Linked DNA regions of Homo sapiens: regions 1 and 2 are each linked to region 3. The links are contacts of gene promoters, found by promoter capture Hi-C in human tissues and cell types (Jung and others, 2019). All regions are on one chromosome and are shown on one strand. Each heading gives the region's core, a stretch centred on a gene start or on the middle of the fragment in contact. The rest is flanking DNA. Distances are from core to core; before and after follow the strand shown. Region 1 overlaps NFATC2 (nuclear factor of activated T cells 2). Region 2 overlaps NFATC2 (nuclear factor of activated T cells 2). Region 3 holds the start of DPM1 (dolichyl-phosphate mannosyltransferase subunit 1, catalytic).

Evidence for each region. The method cuts DNA at HindIII sites, captures the fragments that hold promoters and counts their contacts. A contact is called where the count stands out against the background at its distance.
Region 1: a fragment that was not itself captured here is called in contact with the fragment with the promoter of DPM1 in region 3 in 1 of the 25 tissues and cell types used here (heart left ventricle).
Region 2: a contact is called between a fragment that was not itself captured here and the fragment with the promoter of DPM1 in region 3, in 2 of the 25 tissues and cell types used here (lymphoblastoid cells and mesendoderm cells).

What each region holds. Positions count from the first base shown.
Region 1 is chr20:51,413,362-51,417,115 of GRCh38, reverse strand. All of the region lies in intron 9 of NFATC2 (nuclear factor of activated T cells 2), which reads left to right. Among named protein-coding and RNA genes, the nearest start is that of MIR3194, 38 kb to the left of the region's middle. The HindIII fragment of the contact is 3,363 bases long and covers 333-3,695 here.
Region 2 is chr20:51,388,446-51,392,664 of GRCh38, reverse strand. It overlaps NFATC2 (nuclear factor of activated T cells 2), which reads left to right. Exons shown (of 11, transcript NM_012340.5): 11 at 1,214-4,219. All of the region lies in intron 2 of LOC105372663 (a long non-coding RNA gene), which reads right to left. Among named protein-coding and RNA genes, the nearest start is that of MIR3194, 62 kb to the left of the region's middle. The HindIII fragment of the contact is 4,969 bases long and covers 400-4,219 here.
Region 3 is chr20:50,955,461-50,959,781 of GRCh38, reverse strand. DPM1 (dolichyl-phosphate mannosyltransferase subunit 1, catalytic) reads left to right here and starts at 1,250. Exons shown (of 9, transcript NM_003859.3): 1 at 1,250-1,419. The coding sequence starts at 1,259. It overlaps MOCS3 (molybdenum cofactor synthesis 3), which reads right to left and starts at 964. Exons shown (of 1, transcript NM_014484.5): 1 at 1-964. The coding sequence starts at 939. RefSeq lists enhancers at 181-791, 1,004-1,493. The HindIII fragment of the contact is 10,279 bases long and covers 1-4,321 here.

The DNA.
Region 1 (3,754 bases), core at 765-3,264, 460 kb before region 3:
CCAGAGGCACAGGCAATGGGTGGTTAGAGGCACGTGTGTGAGAAGTGATTCTGAGTCCACGTATAAAGAGAATAGGGCATTTATCCTGGGCTGCTCCCCCTGCCTTTTCACTCCTTCATCTGATGAGACTCCAGGAAACTGGCTTTTGCCCCAGACCCACTGATCTGACCTCCTCCTGGGCCCTCCATGTGGATTCCCTGCAGGAACCTCACATTCAACCAGCGCTAAAGTGAATTCTTGCTACTGCCCCTACTGTCCCTCTGGCCCCCATGCTCAGCTCCCATCTGTTGCCTAAGGAACTTGGGGGTGTGGCCTTAGGTGAGTTACTGAATGTCTGTGACCTCAATTTCCCCATCTGCAAAATGGGGATATTAGCAGTGCTTGAGGTTTAAAGGAAATGATGTATGAGAAGTGAGTATAACCAGGTCAGCCACACAGCACTCCATAGAGAGCAGCTATCAGCTTCATCATCTTCTTAGCCTCATCTTTATCTGTCCAGGGCTGCAGAAATGTCTTCATCTCTGCACTTGGGATGTGCCAACCCTCCTTTAATATCTTCTCACCAGTTTTTGGCCCCCACGTAGCCTCTCCCAGATTTGAACGGGCCCTTTATTCCAGACAGATGTGAAACCCCTTCATCATGGCTTCCTGTTTGAGGGAGCAGCCCCTTCAGCCAGACAGAGTGAGAAGCCAGGAGCTGGCACCCTGGGAATCCCAGGTGGGTGCTGTGCCCTACCCAGGCAGAGCCGGCAGGTCCTCTGAGTCCTGAGGGTCCTGGTCTGGTTCCTCTGTTTTCTCTCTGGACCATTTCAGAACCAATTCCCTCAGCTATCTCTGGGATTTTTTTATTTTGAGACAGAGTCTCACTCTCTCTCTCTCAGACTGGAGTGCAGCGGTGTGATCTCGGTTCGCTGCAACCTCTGCCTTCAGGGTTCAAGTGATTCTCCTGCCTCAGTCTCCAGAGTAGCTGGGATTACAGGAGTGTGCCACCATGTCCGGATAATTTTTGTATTTTTAGTAGAGACGGGGTCTCGCTTTGTTGGCCAGGCTGGTCTTGAACTCCTGACATCAAGTGATCCACCCACCTCGGCCTCCCAAAGTGCTGGGATTACAGGCACGAGTCACCACACCTGGCAGCTATCTCTGGGATTTTTAAACTCCTACTGTTTTCTTTTTCCCTGGACTTCCTATTATCTGAACATCATTATCTGTATTTGGTGCAGGATTGTTCCAGACCAGGGTCAGTTTTTCCTCCTGTGAGACTGACAACATTGGCAAGAAAGAAAGGGAAAGGAGGAGGAGGAATGGAAGGAAGGGAGGCTGATAAAGTGCGGTATTGGTGAGAGGGTGTGAAACATGTCCTCTCAGTCATTATTGGTGGGCATCTGCATGGGTAGAACCTCTTTTGAAGGGCAATTTGGTGAAATGAACCCAAATTTAGAATGCACACATCTTTTAATCCAGAATATCCCACTTCTAGAAATGTATCTTTAGAGGTGTGCTGGCCCAGCTGTGAGCCAGGCTGGCTGTTGATTCCATGTCACTGGTCCCCAGCCCTGCACAGTGTTCTCTGGCATGAAGCTTGGTGACTTCAGGAGCTCTTGGTTTTCCTGGATCCCCAGAGACAGGTGGTGGCCAACTACTCAGGGACCACAATAAGCCTCATCTGTCTTCAGGAAGCCGGGTCCATCCAGATACCTGCTGCGTGTGGTGTGTGGGATGTTGACTCCAGCCTTGTCTATAGTAGCAGGAGACTAGAAACAGGCTAAATGTCTGTTAATAAGATGCAGACACACAAGGAAATACTGAGCAAGAGTAGAAGGGAGACTTTCTCCTGATTGTGTTTTTAGAATTTTTTTTTTTTTTTTTTGATACAGGGTCTTACTCTGTCACTCAGGCTGGAGTGCCATGGTAGGATCATGGCTCACTGCAGCCTCAAACTCCCAGGCCCAAGTGATCCTCCCACCTCAGCTCCCCAAGTAGCTGGGATTACCAGCATGTGCCACCACACCTGGCTAGTTATTTTTTGTAGAGATGGGGTCTCACTATGTTGCCCAGGCTGGTCTCAAAACTCCTGAGCTCAAGGAATCCACCAACTTTGGCCTCCCAAAGTGCTGGGATTACAGGCATTAGCAACCATGCCCAGCCCCTAGGAGAGAATTTTTAAAAAGAAAGGGGCAGATTTCAGGTCCTAGAAATGACCCCAGAGGCTGGAGTGAAAATGAGGATTTAGAAACAGAAACCTTTCTGTTCTGGTTGGGGCTGTGTTTCCGGCTGTGTGTATGCATGATCAGCCTCGCCCACCCCTCAGCTGTGAGGGGAGGATGACTGCGGCTGTGCGGAGGCTTTCTTGCCTCCAAACCTTTGCCCATGCCTTAACCACCGCCTGGAAATCCTGCTCTCCTGTGACTTTTTTTTTTTCTTTTTTTAACAGAGTCTTGTTTTGTTGCCCAGGCTGGAGTGCAGTGGCACAATCTCTGCTCACTGCAACCTCTGCCTCCTGGGTTCAGTTGATTCTCCTGCCTCAGCCTCCCAAGTAGCTGGGATTATAGGTGTGTGCCACCACACCTGGCTAATTTTTGTATTTTTAGTAGAGATGGAGTTTTGCCATGTTGGCCAGGCTGGTCTCGAACTCCTGACCTCAGGTGATCCGCCCACCTCGGCCTCCCAAAGTGCTGGGATTACAGGCGTGAGCCACCATGCCTGGCTCTCTGCTGTGACTTTTGAAATCTGGCCAGCGTTCCAAGGCTCTGACAATGTCTCTGCTCTGCACCTGGAGGGTTTCTCTCTTGCCTTGAAGTCCTGGAAATGAACATGGTCTCTTTCAGGTGTTTCCATTTATTTATTTATTTATTTTTTCTCCCTTGCTCGAGTCTCTGGGTAGTGAGGACAAATGCTGTGACTTGTCTGCACTGCTGACTGCCCCTGGGCTGGCTTTGCACATGGGAAGCCCTTGACAACATTTGCTGACGTCCACCCTTTGCTCAAAGACCTGGCTCAGCTTCCTGCATAAAAGGTGCTCACCCAATATTTGTGGTATCGAATGAATAACCAGGCATGAAACTGAGAACCGAGACTGCCTGGGTTTAAAATGATTTAAAACTATTTGTCACAAAAGAACAATAATGATAATAGCAGCTCATGCTTAGATGTTTACTGTTTACCAGACATTCTTCTAAGACTTTGCTGCATTAGCTCATTTAACCCTCATGGCAGCCGCAGAGGCATTTTATAGATGAGGAAACTGTAGCCCAGGGAGGTTAAGTAACTGGTCCAAGGTCCCACAGCAAGTGAGTACATTTGTACATGTTCTTTAGTTTTGTTTTTAATTTTAAAATTTTTATTTAATATTTTTGGAGGGGACAGGGTCTTGCTCTGTCACCGAGGCTGGAGTGCACTGGTGCCACCATGGCTCACTGCAGCCTTGAACTCCTAGGCTCAAGCAATCCTCCCACCTCAGCCTCCTGGGTAGCTGGACTATAGGCGTGTGCCACCACTCCTGGCTGTTTTTTCTTAATTTTGTAAAGACAGGGTTTCACTATGTTGCCCGGGCTGGTCTTGAACTCCTGGCCTGAAGCAGTCCTCCCAGCTCAGCCTCCCAAAGTGCTAGGATTACAGTATGAGCTGCCACACCCCGCCTCTTTAGGTTTTTTTGAAAAAAGATGCCATATGTTTCTTTGGGAGTTCAGGAGTGCAAATAAAAACCTCTAGCATCTGCTAACAAGATTTGCCAGTGAATAAACCCTGAGGAGAC
Region 2 (4,219 bases), core at 1,635-4,134, 430 kb before region 3:
GAAATGAACCTGCCTTTGATGGGACTCCCAAAGGGGTCTACAGCCTCATGCCTTCCACCCCACGACTAGTCAGTATGGTCTACCTGTAAAACTGAAGGTGTAGACATACCTTAGGGAGCATGCCTCATGGATGGGCTGTCACCAATAGCACCTTCTTCTTTCCAAGAATGTTTTAGGGAACCTTTTTGCAGGATCCACTATCCTAAGATCTCAGTGCCCTAATTCTAGTAATTAGTACCTTACCCAGTGGGCAAAGTGGGAGAAGGTAGCTTGCTTCCTGATGCCAGTGACTGTTACTGCTCTTGGTTCCCTGCTAGGAACTCCACACATACTTCTGGGGAGAGGGGTGACCAAACTTTCCTGAGCTGGCACATGATCCTTCAACTGGTTGTGCTGAAATGGAAACTATGTTTATGTTGATGGCTAGTCAGTCTTTGGGGGGCCCTCACTTGCTCTCTTTGTAAGGGTTCCTCTTTTGAGAACCGTAAGTTTTATGGATCAAGAAAGAACCATGTTTTATCAGACTTAATCATGTAATAGGCATTTTCTAGATGTGGAAATAGTGGAAGTAGTTTGGTACACAATAGCCTCAAGCATGACATCAAATGCAGAAGAGGAGAAAGTTACTTCAAACATGCCCTATGGCTCAAATCCATTTTTCCCACAAAGATTTCCATTTCTGCCACAAAGATTTGAAAAAGTTACCATTTGAGCAATTTTCACTAACAGATCTTTAGCAAAAAATATTGCCTGAAGAAAATATGATATAGGAAAGCATTCCTTATATTAAAAATTGTCAAATATACAAGCACAAGGAACAACAACAAAAAAAGTATTTAAAAAAAATAGAGATGGGCAGAATGGTTCATGCCTGTAATCCCAACACTTTGGGAGGCTCAGGTGGGAGGATCGCCTGAGCTCAGGAGTTTGAGACCAGCCTGGGCAACAGAGTGAGACCCTGTCCCTACTAAAAATTTAAAAATGTAGTCAGGTGTGGTGGCGTGCACCTGTATGTAGTCCCAGCTACTCGGGAGGCTGAGGCTGCAAGGAGCCATGATCATGCCATTGCACTCCAGCCTGGGTGACAGAGCAAGACCTTGTCTCAAAAATCAATAGCCCAATAGAGGTTCTAGAAAGTGAACCTGATGCATGTTTTCGGTGCCCTCTCACTTGCCCCATTCTCTCTCCCCCCCCCTCCTCTTTTCTTTTGTAGTTAATGAAATTATCAGGAAGGAGTTTTCAGGACCTCCTGCCAGAAATCAGACGTAAAAGAAGCCATTATAGCAAGACACCTTCTGTATCTGACCCCTCGGAGCCCTCCACAGCCCCTCACCTTCTGTCTCCTTTCATGTTCATCTCCCAGCCCGGAGTCCACACGCGGATCAATGTATGGGCACTAAGCGGACTCTCACTTAAGGAGCTCGCCACCTCCCTCTAAACACCAGAGAGAACTCTTCTTTTCGGTTTATGTTTTAAATCCCAGAGAGCATCCTGGTTGATCTTAATGGTGTTCCGTCCAAATAGTAAGCACCTGCTGACCAAAAGCACATTCTACATGAGACAGGACACTGGAACTCTCCTGAGAACAGAGTGACTGGAGCTTGGGGGGATGGACGGGGGACAGAAGATGTGGGCACTGTGATTAAACCCCAGCCCTTGCGTTCGTTTTTCCAGGTCACAGATACAGCTCCTGTACCTTTTGAAGGCAAGGAGTTCTCAGAGCAACCAAAGGAACGTGACCCAAGAGCCCAGCTTACAGGCTGAAGAAACCCAAAACCCTCGATAGAGACAGAAACTGAACTGTCAGTCCTTAGAGCTCGCCCAGTCCATGCCACAACTGGGCCACAGCTAAAGCTTTATTTTTGAATTCTCATTCCAAAACCAAACTGTCTTGCCCAGACAAGATCACCTGTTAAGACTTCTTGGCGTTAAGTTATGACATGTATACGCGTTTGTTATTATTATTTTTTCTGCTTTAAAAGGCTGACCAGGGCACCTAGCCCTGGAGCTGTCTTGGCGAGCTGTTCTTTAACCCCTGCAGCACGCAGTCCTGCTAACACAATTTCCATAGACTTGGGGGGCTGACCCAGGCTGCAGAGAGCAAGCACCTGTCTGCTGCAGCTGTACAACCTGGATGCTTTGCAAGGTTCCGGCTTGCTTTCTTCCTAGCAGCCAGAGTGCTTTTCCGTAAAGCGGTGGAGAATCTCAAGCATGTGCATTTAATTGAGGAATAGCAGAAGGGCTAAAGCAACCAAGAAAAGAAGTGTGGGTATTTTTGTTAAGTAAAACAGCCCAAGTGCTTCTGGAGGTGGGTTTCTACCAAGATAGAGGAAAAGGGCTGAATTCCCTCTAAGTGGGACAGCCGAGCTCAGGATGTGCTTCCCAGCTTCACTGGTTAATTTGACCTGAACCTATTTAAAGATCCCTTCTGCCCCTGAAGACCTATCCGCACTCAAATTCTAACATGAAGAAATCTACTCGAATGCATCCTTTACTTTGAATGAGCTCTATTCGGTTGCATGTTATATGTGATTTCCTTCCTCCCAACTGTTTCCACTGAGCGCACCCAGTCTCCCCTAGTCTTCCTCTGTGGGTGTGATTTTTGTGATTTTTACAAACAAAACCCTTGAAGTTCTTGGCAGATGTGTTTGTTTCTGTTTGCATGTACTGCAGATACCCCAGGACAAGCGGGGGATTCATTTTTCAGCCATTCAGTTGTTTCCTCAATAATCCGCAGCAAAGTGAAAATATTCTTAGCACTCAGACTGTACTTAGAGTGTTTTCTCAGTCCAGTCTGTACAGTCTGTAGGCAGAAGGCCTCAGAAGAAAGTCATGGCCACTCAGTGCCCACTGTGGGCTTTGTAAGTCCTGGCTCTCCCGTCAAGGTTACCCAGAGGTAAAAGCTTCCTGGGAGTGGGGCCAGGTGTGTTTGGCACTCCAGATAGAAGGCAAAATGCTCAGATTCGGGCCTGTGCACTTGTATGCAACCTGTCGGTCGATACCTAGCATTTATTTTTCCCTGACAATGAACGACCTTTCCCTCACCCACCCTAAGCTCAAAGAGTTTAGCAAAATTCTCTTTTAAATAAACAGAATGCCAGTAAGAGGTTGACCCCTACCATGGAACTTCTGGGATGCTAAATACTTCCTCATGAACAAAATAAGTTCCTTATTATAAGTTCCTTATACTAGCAGCTTCACCTAAAGAATTTTCTCTCCAGCAATATTGACTTCACTGGGGAAAAGCCAAGAGTGTGTGGTGAGTGATTTGTTCTCACTCGACCTGGCTAGGACTGGCTAGGAGCTGTTTTTTGTACATGAGGGAATTTGGGCTTTCCTCAGTTATCTGAATGTTTTACCCAAGTGCCTTCCTGCTATTGTAGCAAAGTAGCTCAGCTTCCTTGTCCACAGGGTGAAAAAGGACTAATGCATTTTCCATCAGTTTTCTAACTATGTTAGCAAAAACGGCCTCCTGGTAGCTCAACCTCCTGTACGCGTGTGTGTGTGTAATACACACACAAATAAACCCCTCTGTTTTTCTAAGACATCTTAGCTGGATATTATAGGAAGCACTTTCATAAACAACTGTAACAAATCGCAAAGGAAAGAGAAACAAAAGCATTAGATTTGAGACATAAACAGGCAAGAGAAAGTGTATTAGGAACTGACAGCTATCAAGGAAGTTTTGTCAGTTACAAATGCTAGGAGGAAATTTTGCCAAGAAGGATGGCTCATGAAATATTTCCAGTACGGGAAGAGGCAATAAGATCCTCTAAGAGAATGAGAAAGTAGGGGTGTCTAAATGGTAAAGATGGGTGTGTTGCACGTGTGTTAGAAGGATCTCAGTTGAGTGAAGGTTTGCACTGCTACATCTAAGTTAATGTAAATATGTAGCACTCTGACAGGTCTACCGTGTTGCTGAATGTAGTATATTTCCAAAGTTTGCAAGTCTTCCTGTATTGTACAAAGATGCTGCTGCTTGATAATATGTATAGCAATCCAGATTAGTATGTTATTAAATTTTATTTTCTTACCTGTATTTTTATGCTTTTTACCTGTCCTCAAAATATTACACCCCTGTTGGAATTAGATTTATATTTATAAATGGTCAGAAATCTTTTTAAGTGTCTCTTTTTACACATAGGTTGATTTTTTTTTCTTAAGAGAAATGATGTATTCTTGAAACATTTGTTACTCATTCCAGGAAACAAAAACCCAT
Region 3 (4,321 bases), core at 1-2,500:
TTCATAGTCCAGCAGATCAGTCACAGTGGGCCGTTCCCCGCAAGCTGCACAGTCGAGCCTGCGGCTCCGCAGCCGAATAGAGCGGAAATGCCCTCTCAGGGCATCAAAGAGCAACAAGCTGCCACTGTAAGAGGGGCCCAGACCCGCAGCGATTTTCAGCACTTCCAAGGCCTGCAGGCAGCCCAGGACCCCGGTAACGACACCGAGCACCCCGCCGTCCGCGCAGTTGGTCACTGTCTCCGCTGGGGGTGGTTGGGGGAATATGCAGCGATAGCAAGGGCCACCGTCATAATGGTAGACTGTGATTTGGCCCTCGAAGCGCAAGGCACTGGCAGACACGAGGGGCCGACCCGCCAGCACACATGCGTCATTAACCAGGTAGCGAGTGGGCACGTTGTCCGAGCAGTCAGCCACCACATCATATCGGCGGACCAGGTCTAGGGCAGTGGCTGGCGTAAGGGCCTGAGTGTACGGCACGCATTCCACTGCCGAATTGAGGCGGCGCAGCGAGGCGGCGGCCGAAAAGGCCTTGGCCTGGCCAGCCAGTGCCTCGCCATGCAGCACTTGGCGGGCCAGGTTGCTCATCTCTACCACGTCATAGTCCACAAGGCCAAGGCGGCCCACGCCGGCCGCTGCCAAGTACTGCGCTAGTGGACAGCCGAGCCCACCGCAGCCCACGATTAGCACGCACGCGGTCCCCAGGCGCAGCTGTCCGTGCACGCCCAGCTCGGGCAGCACTAGCTGCCGGCTATAGCGCAGAATCTCATCTCGGGACAGAGCGGCCTTCGGCGGCAGCGGCGACACCGGAACCAGCCGTTCTGGCTGCGGTTCCTGCTCAGCCAAAAGAGCCGACGCCAGCTTCTGCTTCAGCGAATTCAATTCCTCCTCACGTTGGGCAACTTCAGCTTGTAAGGCGAGTACCTCCTCCCGGGAAGCCATGGCGACCTCTTCCGGAAGTTGTCGTGAAAGGCATTTCCGCTTCCGTCTTCTGTCTCCTAGCGACTGGGATAAACTAAAAAACTTTATGGAGCTTGGGAAAAGGTGATGAATAGATATTTACTTCCTGAAGAAACCTTCAGATTAAACTTCAAAGATGTATAAATCCAGAATATTTCTAATTGAACCACGCAATGGCCCTAGAAGAACTAGCGATCAATCACACAGGTCATCCCCCGCTTCCGAATTTGGTACGGTCCGACCCGTCCTTTTCCGCGCCACATTACGTAATTCCGCTTCCGGCATCTGGCTCAGTTCCGCCATGGCCTCCTTGGAAGTCAGTCGTAGTCCTCGCAGGTCTCGGCGGGAGCTGGAAGTGCGCAGTCCACGACAGAACAAATATTCGGTGCTTTTACCTACCTACAACGAGCGCGAGAACCTGCCGCTCATCGTGTGGCTGCTGGTGAAAAGCTTCTCCGAGAGGTAGCGCACCAGGTCTCCCTCCCCGAAGAATGAGATGAGCTGGCTTCCCCGGCCCGGGTGTCGGCAGCTGGCTGCGCGAAGCGGCCCTGTCCAGCCTTCTTTGCCTCACACAGGAAGGCCCGGGGAGAGGGCCACCCTGCGAGGGAAGCAGAGGCGGATGCTTGTTGGGTTTTCTTCGTGTCCTGGGTTCTCATTCCTGCCCTTGGGTTTTGTGAGACTCTCATTTATCTTTATTATGTAGTACTCCCGTCCCCCGCCTTTCCGTAGAAAGGTTGGCCACTCTTTTACTTGGAAGCGAGGCTGAAAGCGTGATCCCACTCCTCCCTCTAGGCGGTCAGGATCTGCGGCAAGAGCCGGGAGTCCAAGCGAGAGCTCTCACTCTCCGCTCCGGTGCCGAGTGCTTACATAAGCATGAGGTTTGGTGTGTGTGGGTTAGGGAGCTATTGCTGGGCACGATAACCTTTCTGGAAAGGAGAAAGCAGAAGAGCATCTTCGCTGATCACTGGTGGATGTTTGGTGTGATTGTTAGAACCGGGATGGGGGGTGGGTGGAGTTCGAATTTGGAAGTGTTAATGCAGTGTTTTTAAAAACTGCAAAAAATCCTGGAGTCAGTACGAAGTAACTTGTTTTACGATTGCACAAATGGGATCATGCTGTGAAATCTTTGAAGACTTTTTCTCATATTAACATGTACAAACATAGCAAATTACTTTGGAAGTTAGGTAACATTCCATATGGCTGTGTTATTTATTTAATCAGGTCATGGCAATGAACTGGATTATTTCCAGCGCCTTTTGGTTGTTTCTGTTTTTTGGCTTTTGCTTTGTCGATGAGAACAAGGACTTTGTTCACACCATATTTTCCAGCTAAATTTAGAAAAGTGCTTGACACATAGCGGTGCTCCTTTATTGCATCAGTGTTGGCAGCAGACGCGTTCATACTTTTACTTGTGTACTAGGGATAAATTCTTCGAGGTAGGATTGCTGGGTCGACAGAAATGTGCTTAAAATGGACAGTTACTGCCAAATTGCTCTAAAGAAAAAAAAGGTTGTACAAGTTTGGACTCTCCATTCTTCAGAGTGCCTGTTTCCCTATCAACCAGCCCGCCTGAGCATTAGACTTAACATTGTTGGAAGTACTCATTTGTGAAAACCATTGCTGTTTTGATTGTATTTCCTTGAATAACTGCCTTCATATGCCTTGCCCCTCAGAGTTTTAAAATTTTTATTTTTCCTGTTTAATCTTTTAATTTTGATTTCTATAAGCTCTAAATTAAAGAAAGTAACTATCATACAACCGATCTCGTTCAGGGCTTGTATTCTAATTTTGCAATTTTTTTTTTTGCTGTTTTAATTTTTTTATGTAGTACAATTTATGTTTCCTTTTAATGGTTTGTGAATCAATCTTTTAAGATCAAAATGAAGTTTGATAAAGGAAACAAAACTTTTCAGATGCAATCAAATTACTTGAAGTCAGCCCAGCTTGGTACCTTTGAGCTGCCTCACCCTCAGGTGGTGTAGCTGCTTTGAAGTGGTAGGGGACAGTAATTTGCTTTTAACGACCCCATTTTGTTTATGGAATTTCTCTTTCAGCACGTCTATTAAAATCACCTTACATATTTTGGCATGTAAAGGCACCAGTGCCCAGATTTAAGGCACAGTGGGAAGCCAAAGTCATTGTTCTACTCTTGGAGAATAGATAACACAGGGGTTTGCTTTCTTGTCTTCAAAGTTTGCTGGGGCTGACTTGTTAAAGCCTTTAACAGTGGAATATGTTTTCTGGTTGATTTTCTTGTATTTGTTTCTTTTTTCTTTTTCTTTTTTTTTTTTTTCTTTTGGAGACGGAGTCTTGCTCTGTTGCCCAGGCTGGAGTGCGGTGGCGCCATCTTGGCTCACTGCAGGCCCCGCCTCCCGGGTTCTTTTTAGTAGAGACGGGGTTTCACTGTGTTAGCCAGGATGGTCTCGATATCCTGACCTCGTGATCCGCCTGCCTCGGCCTCCCAAAGTGCTGGGATTACAGGTGTGAGCCACCGCGCCCAGCCTCTTGTATTTGTTTCTTAAAGCAGGACCAAGAGAAAACGGAATGTTATGTCGTAGGTATTATTTATCCACCAAGTATTGTGTTGGTTTGTTTTTAGACTAGAAACTACCACCTGAGATTAATGGGAAGTAACAGATGTTAATTCTGAAGCACAGTGGAATCTTTTGTAATGCTACTCTGCTTTTGTTTTTTTAATTTGATAATGTGAGGTAATAGGCACAACTATTTGAAATTGTGGTTTAAGATAATGTCACCATTCTAAAATCGGTTTTTTTAAAGATGAAATTAAATCAGATTTATACTTGATTATTCTATTTGGATCAGATTAACAAGAATAATCACTGAGTTACTCAGTTTGGTTTGAGTTACCATGTAAAGTACTTTTGAAATATTTTATGTAACTAAGATTTGCTATTAAGGTTCAGAATATTATTTCCAAATAGGTAATAAAATTTCATATGGCTGGGCACGGAGGCTCATGCCTGTAATCCCAGCATTTTGGGAGGCTGAGGCGGGCAGATCACGAGGTCAGGAGATTGAGACCAGGCTGGCTAACACGGTGAAACCCCGTCTCTACTAAAAATACAAAAAATTAGCCGGGCGTGGTGGTGGGCGCCTGTAGTCCCAGCTACTCCGGAGGCTGAGGCAGGAGAATTGCTTGAGGCCAGGAGGCAGAGGTAAGCCGAGACTGCGCCACTGCATTCCAGCCTGGCAACAGAGCAAGACTCCATCTCAAAACAAAAAAAATTCATATGATACATAGGTCATTACGTGATTTTCTTTTGAACTAAAAAGTTTGTTCTCTGTGTAGGAATTCTTTAATATCTCAGGACATTAGCATGTTTCAGCAACATACTGGGTT